Regions from separate parts of the Homo sapiens genome. Here all the other regions are linked to region 3. Evidence: promoter capture Hi-C in human tissues and cell types (Jung and others, 2019). All regions are on one chromosome and are shown on one strand. The core of a region is centred on a gene start or on the middle of the fragment in contact, and the rest is flanking DNA. Distances in the headings are between cores, read along the strand shown. Region 1 has its middle 15 kb from the start of TRL-TAA1-1. Region 2 overlaps ZC2HC1B (zinc finger C2HC-type containing 1B). Region 3 holds the start of SF3B5 (splicing factor 3b subunit 5).

Evidence for each region. The method cuts DNA at HindIII sites, captures the fragments that hold promoters and counts their contacts. A contact is called where the count stands out against the background at its distance.
Region 1: a fragment that was not itself captured here is called in contact with the fragment with the promoter of SF3B5 in region 3 in 2 of the 25 tissues and cell types used here (mesendoderm cells and spleen).
Region 2: a fragment that was not itself captured here is called in contact with the fragment with the promoter of SF3B5 in region 3 in 1 of the 25 tissues and cell types used here (thymus).

The regions. Positions count from the first base shown.
Region 1 is chr6:144,230,236-144,233,825 of GRCh38, forward strand. No RefSeq gene overlaps it. Among named protein-coding and RNA genes, the nearest start is that of TRL-TAA1-1, 15 kb to the left of the region's middle. The HindIII fragment of the contact is 8,996 bases long and covers 1-3,590 here.
Region 2 is chr6:143,932,778-143,936,844 of GRCh38, forward strand. All of the region lies in intron 6 of ZC2HC1B (zinc finger C2HC-type containing 1B), which reads left to right. Among named protein-coding and RNA genes, the nearest start is that of ZC2HC1B, 70 kb to the left of the region's middle. The HindIII fragment of the contact is 3,034 bases long and covers 849-3,882 here.
Region 3 is chr6:144,093,760-144,097,735 of GRCh38, forward strand. SF3B5 (splicing factor 3b subunit 5) reads right to left here and starts at 1,814. Exons shown (of 1, transcript NM_031287.3): 1 at 1,125-1,814. The coding sequence starts at 1,738. The coding sequence ends at 1,478. RefSeq lists an enhancer at 1,564-2,263. The HindIII fragment of the contact is 26,090 bases long and covers 1-3,976 here.

The sequences.
Region 1 (3,590 bases), core at 755-3,254, 140 kb after region 3:
GCAAAACAACCATCCCAACCCTGGATTACCAACCTTCAGGCATCCATGAAGGCAGAAATAAACTGTTATTTGGTGAAGGCTTCTTTCACCTGCAGCCAATGTTAATCCAACCTGATATTAATACAAATCAATATAAATATTAGTATTAGTATTAAAAATATAAGAAAGAAGTCACTAACCATCCACTGCATACCAGTGCTTTAGCGTTTTCTTTTTATTACACATCCTGTCAATTCTGCTCTGAAATGCTGGCCTGCAGTTTAAGGAAATTGTCAGATTCCCAACCTGTCTATCTGAATATCAATTATTAGTCTGTTTTTGCACTGCTATGAAGAACTACCCGAGACTGGGTAATTTATAAAGAGAAGAGGTTTCGTTGGCTTATGGTTCCACAGGCTGTATAGGAAGCATGGCAGGGGAGGCCTCGGGAAACTTTCAATCGTAGTGGAAAGCCAAGGGAAGCAGGCACATCTGACATGGCTGGAGCAGGAGAGAAGAGAGAGTGGGGAGGTGCTACACACTTTTAAACAACCAGATCATGTGACAACACACTTATTATCATGAGAACAGCACCAAAACGGACGCCCGCCCCCATGATCCAATCACCTCCCACGAGGCCCAACCACCAACATTGGGGATTACAACTAGACATGAGATTTGGGTGGGGACACAGACCCAAACCATATCAATCAGCTTAGAAGAAAATGTATCTAATTGAAAATACAGCCAATAATATGAACATTATGGTGCCAAGCAGAGCAGACAACAGCTTGTATGTATATTTATTTTTAAGTTTCTTTAGAACATTGAAGGAGCAAAAGAGTTTCTAAAACTGAAGGCTCTGGATCCCTCATTCTCTGCTTCTCCAAAGATCCTCAAATGTATGAGATTAAAACTCGAGAGAGTAATAAGATGGGAGTCATCAATATATAGGTGGCAAAGGAAGCAAAGGCCTGAATACAATTATGCAAGAAGAGAGGATGGTGAGAAGAGGGTCTCTGAGAGTACTACAGAAAGTGCATTTATTTTTGAGATGGAGTCTCACTCTGTCGCTCAGGCTGGAGTGCAGTGGCATCGTGATCTCAGCTTACTGCAATCTCCACCTCCCAGGTTCAGGCGATTCTCGTGCCTCAGCCTCCCAAGTAGTTGGTATTACAGGCATGTGCCACCATGCCCGGCTAATTTTTGTATTTTTAGTAGAGACAGGGTTTCACCATGTTGACCAGGCTGGTCTTGAACTCCTAATCTCAAGTGATCTGCCCACCTCTGCCTCCCAAAATGCTGGGATTACAGGCGTAAGCCACCTTGCCAGGCCAAGAAAGCTCACATTTAAGTGATATTAGATATATCCTTGGATATATCTCTGCACACAAACTAATTTGGCTGGCTTTTGTTTGCATTCCTTGGCAAAGTCAGTTGTAAAGTCAGTTGTTTGATTAGACTTTCCAAGTCCTTTGAAGTAAATTAATACTTGTGTGCAAGCCCAATCTATGTTAGAGAAAAGCAAAACTAGGAAAGCAGCATTTTTTGGAAGGGAAAACCTTCTTTATGTCAGGCTCCACAGTCCTGCCAAAGTCCTTCTTTAGGCGCATCTGGGAAAAGGAAGGGAATCACTAACTCCAATCTTAACCCTGGCTTGAATCTTCACATTGGCCTTGACCCGGGAAGGTATTATCATCTAAGCCACTTTTTCATTTTATCTAGAATTTGTCACTGACACATGAAGAGAGGCTGGAAAATGGGAAGGAATAAAGTTCCTGAGAAACTGACCTGCCGTTTTGGAGCTAGAATCAGAATGGAAATTTGGAACTTGGAAGACTTTCTGTTTTTTTTTCCCTCTGTTTGTATTTTCTATAATTATTTCCTTTTTGTGAATACATGGTATTGTGTAAAGTTCTCTATTCATGTAAAGACAGTTTCTTCTATTTATTTCTGTTTCTCAGTGCCTGGCATTATTGCTTGCTAAATATATTTCACCATTTACTCCAGGCTGAAGCATTGACACCATTTTGTGGCTTCCCCACATCCAACTCCAAGCTGCACTTTTCACAGATAAATCACTGTAATTAATCACGCTCTTGAAAAGGAACAGGAGGTGTAAAAGCCTAACTAATGTGCACCTTTAGCCCACTCCAATGACGCTTTGGAAACCGACTGCTGGAACCCTTAACTTTGGCTCTGTATTTCCAGATCCTCTAGCAGTATGAGATCATTGAGATTGTGGAATGAGCTGGGAAATTTTATTTTTCAAAAGCAACCAACCATACCTGTATATTTGTAAGGATTTTTATGGAGTCCTGCAATGTCAATCCTTAGGCTTGGCTAGTTCATCAACAAACTCAGAAACAAACTGAAAACTAGAGGCTTGGAATTCAGACAGAACTTTCAAAGCCAGGGCTAGAGATGTTTGTATTAGGTTGCTTTGGTTTATTTTTAGAAGGCAACTGTTTTCTCACGAGCAATTTTCTTAGGTAGCTTAAAATACAATCATAGCCACAAATTTGAATCCTCTTTCCTTGAAAAAAGGGGGGAAAAAGAAAAGGAAGATTGCTAAAAATTATTTCCTATTCTAGTATGAGGTAGAAAGAGCTTTCTAATTTTTTTTTTTCCTCAGGTAGATGAACAAAAAATGCCCCACATAAGTACCTTGAATTGACTTTGTAAGGATAAAGGCAATCACTGTTTATGCTTAGGAAATGTATCGCATTGGGACCTTAATGTTGAGTACAACCTCTTACTCCACCATAGTTGCCAAGTTTTGCTAAATTTTTTTTCTGCTGCAAAAGTTTATTGTTTCATTGCCGGGGAGCACCTCCCAGGCCCTGGGGAAAAAGCCTTGGTTCTCACAAGTGGTTCATATTTTAATCCACTTTATTCCTGCCCTTTCTATTTTAAATGTTTTCAAAATGAAATCTCCAAATTGCATTCTATACAAGGAAATCTTGGTGGAAAATACTAGGGTATAACTCATTCTCACATAAGCAATTGTTTTAGATAATTAAAAAAAATCCTTCTTTCTCACAAGAAGAAGCTGAGAAAACAATTTCAAGAATTCCCACTCACTGAAAGCCAGTTTTCTGAAAGCTAACTTATAGAATAATCTGACATATCAGATTTACATGAATTTACAAAATTTGCTAATAGTGAATTTAATAAGAATGTTAAATTCACTATGGGCTTTCACAAGATGTTCAACTTTTCAAAATTTCAGCATCTCCTATGGGAATCCTTTAGTCCATATTTTCTTCTTAATATAGAAGATCATTTTAGCTAAATTCTGATTTACTTTTAGATGGTCTTAAACTTAAAATCTAAAGCTGATAGAACTATGAAAATATTCCTGATAGGGCTAATAAATATGTAAGTAAAATTGATAAACCTGATAAGTTGGTCATTTGGCAAATTTGCTTGGTGTAAACTTGATGGGTGGTGACTGAACAAGACTTTGCCCCATTACATGGTGTAGTGTGTACACTGCATAAATCCAGGGGCGCCATTTACACAGAGTATAATATGAATAGAGCCCCCTGGAGTTGTGCAACACAGAGGCCCTAGACTTAACTTGGATCATAAGATGTCTGGCCCCAGCC
Region 2 (4,067 bases), core at 1,116-3,615, 160 kb before region 3:
TTGGATACACTATTTCAGTGGAAAAATCTGGAACTCAAGGGCAGCTGTTCAGATTCTTTTGTCCCACAGGGTGAACCCTTGATGTGGTACCCTCCCCCTTTCCCTAGGAGCCAGATTGTGGTGATTGTTCTTGCTATTCTAGGTCTAGCCACTCAGCAGGGCTACCAGGCTATTGGCTGGTTCTGGGGAATGTCTGCCGAGTCCTGTGATGCAATTTGTCTTCGGGTCTACCAGCCGTGGATACCAGCACCTGTTCTGATGGAGGTGGCAGGGGAGTCAGGTAGACTCTGTGAGAGTCCTTGGTTGTAAATATGTTTACTGTGTTGTCTTTCTTGAATGCTGGTTATGCTAGCAGCGAAGTTGTCATGTGGACAGACTCGGGACCACTGGTTAGCCAGGATGTTTCAGGCAGTGGAATTAGCTGCTGTTTTTTCCTTCATTAGAGCAGGGTTGTTCTGTTATGAGTTGCTATAATGTTCTGAGTTGGTTAACCTTGAGCCAGGAGGTGGTGCTTTTGAGAGTGCGCCAGCCAGCTGCAATAGTAGAGGGGGATATAAGCTTGCTCTAATTTGGCCAGGACAAGTATTCAGGCTTCTCAGGTGATGGATGGGATCATAAAGCTCCCAAGAGTTTATGTCTTTTGTGATTCACTATTGGACCGGGTAGAGAAATACTATCAGGTGCAGGCAGGATTAGGTAGGTTTGAGCTCAGACTCTCCTTGGGTGGGGGTTGCTGTGGCCACTGTGGGGAGATCAGGGGATGGTTCTTGGGCCAATGGAGTTATGTTCCAGAGGGAATTATGGCTGCCTCTGTCACCAGGGAAGTGGGCGAAAGCTGGTAGCAACAGGCCTCACCCAGCTCCCACACAGTTGGCAAGGCCAGTCTCACTCCCACCGTGCCCTGCTAACCGTGCCAAGTTTATCTCTAGGCAGCCTGCAGCCTGGGACTCAGATCTAGTCCCAGGCTCTAAGTTTCCCCACTGAGGAAGCAAGCACTGCTTTCAGGCCACACCTTTGCCAATCTGCCACACTGTCAGCCGCATCTCCACTGTGCTTTCTGCAACAGTTCCTGTTTGCCCCCAGATTCTTCTCAAGAGGGTTTGCACCCAGTCAAAATTATTACAAAGTTCAGTTGGAAGCTTCTTTCACCCTGTGACCCCTCTCAAATTCTGCCAGTTGCCTTCCCCGAGGGCTCTTGTGAGATAGAGTCAGGGATGGCTTCCCTGGGCTTGAGCTGGAGAATGGGACTGCCTACAAGGCTTGTCCCACTGCTGCTTCTACTTTTACATTTCACAGCAAATCAATTTCAGCTCTAGGTAAGGCTAAATTCTTCTCCCGTAATCTGGATTTTTCAGGTTCCTCAGTGGGGACGTGTGCTTGGAAGCAGATGTGTCCCCTCTCAGACTTTGGGAACTTACGAATTTTCACCTGTCTTGCAGAATTTGCAATAGCCTGCCACTTCTTTCAAAGGATCTGTGATTTCTTTTGTTTTTCCTGGTATGCTCCTGCAGTTGTTCCTGGAGCAAACGACCACAGAGTGAGTGTCCACACGCTGTTCTGTCCATCCAAGTGGGAGCTACTTATCAGCCCTGTCCCCTATCTGCCATCTTCCCTCTCTTTCAATATGCTTTTTTAATATTATGATTTTGAATTCCTTTTCTGGCATTTCATCAATTTTTTTGTTGCAATCTGTTGCTGGAGAATTGTATTCCTTTGGAGGAGTCATATTTTCTTGCATTTTTATGTTTCTTGTGTTCCTATGCCAATATCTCTGCATCTGGTGTAACAGTCACTTCTTCCAATTTTTGAATTGGCCTTCATAGGAAAGACTTCTTCCTACATATGTATCTATAGTGATAGTTGGGTAGGGCACTTTAGCTTTGATACTGGAGCATACAGTAATTGCGTGTCCATGATTTTTTGGCTGTAATTACTATCAGTGGTGTCTATGAATTCCTTAGTGACTTAAACTGCAGTTGTTATTGGAAGCTGTGGTGAGGCTTTGCTGGGGATGGGGACACAAGGTGAGCTGGTCTTCAGGCCTCAGTGGTGGCAGCAGTAGACTGAGCCTGCCTGTCCTTGGGACCCCAGGTAGCATACGTGGGCACTGGTGTTAGCAGGTCCAGGCAGACCAATCTTTGGACCTCCAGATGGCTTGCTCAGGTGCCAGCAGTGGCGATGGTGGGTGGCTCTTCAGGTTCCTGGGTGGCATGCATGGGGTTGCCAATAACATTGATGGTGGTAGACCAACCCTCTGGCTCCTAGGCAGTATCCATAGGGTACTAGTGGTGGCAGTAGTGAGCTGGGCGGCCCCATCCTTAGTCCCCTAGGAGGAGTATGTGGACGCTGCAGATGCTGGTGGTGGTGGGTCAATCTCCAAGTCCATGGATGATGTATGCAGGTACCAATAGGCTGAGCAGACTCACCCTCAGGCACCTGGTAGGGGTGGGTAGAAGCTGACCACAGGCAGGGTGAGCTGACCACAGGCAGGGTGGGTTGATCCCCAGGCCCCAACAATGCACAGAAGCACTGGTGGGCATGACACCACATGGGTCAAGCCTGTCATCAGCTTCCCAATGGTGGGCACAAGCACAGGCTGTGATGGTCAGGGCTGCTCAATCTCCAGGCTCCCAGTCAGTGTCCATTGGTGCCAGCAGGGTGGGTGGCCCTGTCCTCAGGCCCAGTGAGGGTTTGCATGGGTTTCTGTGGCAGGGGTCAGGGCAGCTCATAAGGGTCTTTTTTTTTCTTTTCATTATACAATGCTATATAAAAATAAAGGTCTTTAAAAATTGTTGTTGTTGGGTTTTTTGTTATTGCTATTAATATATTCAGATTGACAATCAGTAGTTTAGGCCACTTGGTATCACTCTTTTTTTTTTTTTTTTTTTTTTTTTTTTGAGACAGGATCTCTCTGTCGCCCAGGCTATAGTGCAGTAGCTTGATCAAAGCTCTCTACAGCCTTGACTTCCTGGGTACAAGTGACCCTCTCACCTCAGCCTCCTGAGTATATGGGATGACAGGCATGTACCACCATACCCAGATAATTTTTTTTATTTGTAGAGGTGAGGTATTATGTTTCCCAGACTGGTCTTGAACTCCTAGGCTCAAGCAATCCTCCTGCCTTGGCCTCTCAAAGTATTGGCATTACAGGTGTGAGCCACTGCCCCTGTCTTCTTTTTTAAGTAATATCTACTTATGGTATCATATATTATAAATCTAGTTGTTGTCTTTCATCTAGATAGCAGTTAGCCTCCTAAAACTCGGGCTTTCATCCTTCAACTCTCTTGAGTAAAATAAGCATTTAGTATCTTGTACCTCCCACATATAACAGTTTTAAAATTCATACCAGAGGAGACACATGTGTGTACAAGTCAACAGCCTTATTGATCCCAGAGTCTTATGAGAAGACATAGCATGCACAGGAAAACTTCTAATACAAAAAGAGCACCTGGTATTAAGTGAAGTTACCATGCCAGTTAAGCAACTGGCGTATGAACTCATTTAATTCTCACAATAGCGTGAGGAGGTCGATGTACTATTCATATCTCTATTTTACAGATGAGGAAAGCACAGAGAGGTTAAGCAACATGGGCAAGCTATTTAATAGGAAGGAGCAGAGCTTTGTACGTTTTGGGAAAAATGGGTCCAAAAATATAAATATTAAGGCTATTGATACATATTTGGAAATTATTTTAGAAAAAGAAGTGGCTCTTCTCGCATTCCTAAAAGATTCTAATGTTCAGATGGGGAATGAGTGTATAGCCTAGTCAGCAAATATGTACTGATGGCTGTTTTCTGGAGGCTTTTGTTATATGAATGATGGATATACTGGAAGGTACTGCCAAGAAGCTGCTTCTCTGAGATCTTCGTACAGAGACTAATGTCACTATGAGCATGTAGTTCTGGGATCTAGACCTGCATTGCTTTGTATATTTAGTAGTGGATTGCATTTGTACAGCTTTGCTGGTGTGGGCTCTACTTTACTTCTGGAGCCAGTGGATTTTTATCAAGTTAAGCATTTTACCTGCACTAGCATTCCATTCTTTACCTAATTTAGTTGTGTAGCA
Region 3 (3,976 bases), core at 564-3,063:
TGAGCCTTGGAAGTTGAGGCTGCAGTGGGCCATGATCGTGCCACTGCACTCCAGCCTGGAGTTCCAAAGCCACCACTGAGCTAAGCTATGCCAGGTCACGTGACTTCTCTGCGTAAAAACCTTCCAATGGTCTGCAGTGGTGGCTCACACCTGTAATCGTAGCACTTTGGGAAGCTGAAGTGGGAGGACTGCTTGAGGCCAAGAGTTCAAGACCAACCTGGCCAACATATCAAGATCCATCTCGTGTTTTTAAAAACTAAAATTAAAAAAAACCACAACCTTCCAATGGCTCCTCAGAGGTTCATATATTGTCCTACAAGACTCTACTCTGTTTTCCCCTCCATTACCTGTCCCTCTACTTTTCCCCTTACTCACTCCCTCCAGCCATGCTTGCCTCTTTGAAGTTCCTCCAATAAACCATACATACTCCCAGCGTTAGTACCATTGCACTGGCAGTTCCCTCTTCATGGAAAGCAATTTCTCCAGTTTTCCGCATGGCCATTTCCCTCATTTTCCTGAAGTCTTTGCTCAAATGTCACCATCTCAGTAACTTGTGCATCATATTTAAGATTACAGCCCTACCAGCTACTCCCACCCGCACCACATACATTGTTCTCCCCTCCCCGCAGCATCTTCTAACATTTGCTTATTACATCTAGTGTTTGACCTCCTTTCTCCACCACCAGCATAATGTAAGCCCCAAGAACACGGGAAAATGCCTGTCACATAGAGCTCAACAAATATTTGTTGAATGTAGAATGGATGAACTCGCTTGCCAGCTTGTCATTTCTGGAGACATGGCCACAAATTCCCAAGAAAAAAAAAAGGATGCATTTTAAAGAGGCTAGGGAGGACAATGACAGCAAAGACTGCAAAGAGTTTTAAAACAGGAGAAAAAGAAGATGGGATACAATAACCACAAATTTCAATACTGAAGGCATTGTGGGCCTGAAAATAACGCTCTTGGGAAAAGTGGCAGTCGGGGAATTAATTATAAAGGTAGACACGGCGGATCTAAGTGCCTGGCCATGGACACTGGCATGCGCTCCCTCACCCAAACCCACTTCCCGCTCAGCTCTTTCCGGAGCCTTCCACCCTAACACAGAAAGTTCACACCAAGAGACTGAACGATTTCTAAACTTTATGGAAAAAGCCAATGACAATCAATTAGCCAAAAACGAGACGCCAAATCCCATCTCACTCCAGCGCCATGCCCTCTTCTCAAACGCTCGCCGGCTCTAGGACCTCTCCACCAGCACAGTTCTCAGGAGTCCTGCTGGTCTCCCAGTGCTGTTCTAAGGGTCCACATGAAGGCAGGTCAGGCGGGACTCCCCGGGCAAGCACTTCTGTACGCGGAAAGCACGAGGCGCAGGAGCCATGGAGAGCCGGTCCTTTGGAGACAGGAATACTTAAGAGGATTGGCAAACCGGAGAAACGCTGGGAGAGGTGCCCCGCACTGCGGTGGTAAGGCAGAGTCTCAGTTCTCCTCGGGCTTGTCGGCTGGCGGTCCACAAGGCTGAAGCATCTTTTCCATCAAGTTGAAGCGGACTCGCGCTTTGCTCTCATTCTCCGCAATGGCGAAGTAGTTGAGAAGGTCGAAGTGGCCCATGTAGGAGCAGTACGAGTCGCGGTGTTGGTTCACCAGCCACTCCCACTTGGTGGTGTCGGCGTGGCCCGTGCCGATGTACTTGGACTGCAGGTGCTCCAGCTGGCTATGGATGGTGTAGCGGTCAGTCATCTCGCCGCTTTCCCCTTCGCTCTCAGGTCAGAGGACGCAGGTAACAACTCGCCGCTCTAGCGTTTTACAGGAGAGTGAAGCCACCGCGCGGAAGCTCCAGGTCCGCGCCGTCGCAGAAGAATGGCGTCACAACGACTAAGTAGCGTAACTCTCGCTCATAGGGCTCAGAGGCGGAAGCGGAAGCACATTCTGTCACGCAATTGGAGTTGCTGAGGCGACGCAACAAGTGTGCCTCCCCCCTCCATGGAGATCCCCGCCCCATCAGAGAATGTTGCATGATGGTCCACTTAGTGGCTAAGGGAGGCCCTTTTCCAACAAGGAGCGTTGCATGCTGGGACTTGTGGTCTTGGGAGTTCGTGCACGCAGGCTTCCGGGACTCCTGGTCGCGTTCTGTTGTTTGTTTGTTTGTTTGTTTAAGACGGAGTCTTGCACTGTTGCCCGGGCTGCAATGCAATGGCGCGATCTCGGCTCACTGCAACCTCCGCCTCCTGGGTTCACGCGATTCTCCTGCTTCAGCCTCCCGAGTAGCTGGGATGACAGTTGCACACCACCACGCCCGGCTAGTTTTTTTGTATTTTTAGTAAAGACGGGGTTTCACTGGTCTCGAACCCCTGACCTCGTGATCCGCCCGCCTCGGACTCCCAAAGTGCTGGGATTACAGGCGTGAGCCACCGCGCCCGGCCCCTGGTCGCGTTTTAAAAGTGATCTGGGGACCTAGTGGAGGGCGATGTCTGGAGGTGGGGAGCATCCGTGGGTGGCTTGGGGCTGATAGGAAATGGGAAACCCAAGAATGACTGGACTACGAGCAGCCCCGAAAATAAACTCTTGGTGTATTTCGGAGCCGTCGTGGCGGCACGGCCGTCCCTTCACAACCGGGGATGGATTACCCAGAAGTCAGCAGGCGCCAGTTCTGGTCCCAACTATGTCTCTTAGGAGTTTGTGGCATAAAAGAGTTATTTCAGCTCTAACCAGGGTGCTTGGTGAGCAAGTACAGCACCAGTTCCCACACATTCCGGCTTCCACCTCAAGCTCCTCCTTCCTCTCTAGCCACTTATTTTGATATCCTCCCTCCAAGGCCTCACCTCACCCTACTTGGCTCTTCCATTCAGTGGGTTTTGTGGATTCAACCAACCTGATTGAAAATATTGGGGGAAAATATCAGTCTGTACCGAAATGCAGACTTTTTAAGGTTATTATTCCCTAAACAATACAGTATAACAACTATTTACATAGCATTTACATTGTATTAGGTATGTTAAATAATCTAGAGACAAACTATACAGGAGGATGTGCGTATATGCAAATACAAGCCGTTTTATATCAGGGACTTGAGCATCCTCTAGTTTTGGTATCCATGGGGGTCCTGGAACAAATCACTCACGAATACTGAGGGACAACTGTATTTCTCCATGTTACCTGTTGTGTCCATCCCCATTTCCTTGTACAAGCTATTCCCTCTACGTGGAATGTCTGTTCCCTTGGTGAACGCATCTCCCTTTAAAGGCAGCTCAAATGCATCTCCTTAGAGTTTTCTCTGGCTGCTCCAGACAGATGTAAACTCTCTTTCCTCTTTGCAAGTTATACGTCTCTTCCTTATTATTGCTTTATGTCCTACTGTTTGGTTTAATAACTTCCTTACATGGGTAGAAGCTACTTGAAAAAAAGATCCTTTTTTTAAAAAAAAAAAGTCCAAAACAAAAATTTGATAAATGGATAAATTATTACAACCGAAGAGAAGGAAAACTTTACTGGGAAGGAGATAACTTGAAAATAATTTTATTCTGCTGTTTAAACTTCGTTATAACAAATGTTTCACTCCTAAAATGTAAAGAATTTTGCCAGGCATACTTGTGGGAGATGTATCAAACCTTAACATTTTGCCATTTTTCTATGGAGCCTGTTTTTTTGATTGCTGAAAGTGTGTATCCATGCACAATAGTTGTTTTTGTTATGCAAGTTTTAAAGCTCTATATAAATAACACTCCGTCTATATTGTTATAAAAGTTGCTTTTTGCCCTTGTCAGTATTCATGTTACATGTTATGTAACTTTAGTTCATTGTTTACTGCTATACAGTATGTCACTTAATTAGTATAACATAACATGTCCACTCTCTCAATGATGGGCATTTATTTTCGTATTTTTGTTATTAGAAACAATGCCGAAATAAATATTCTTATACATGTGAAGGTGTTTCTCCAGGGCAGTGGTCCTCAACCTTTTTGGCACCAGGGACTGG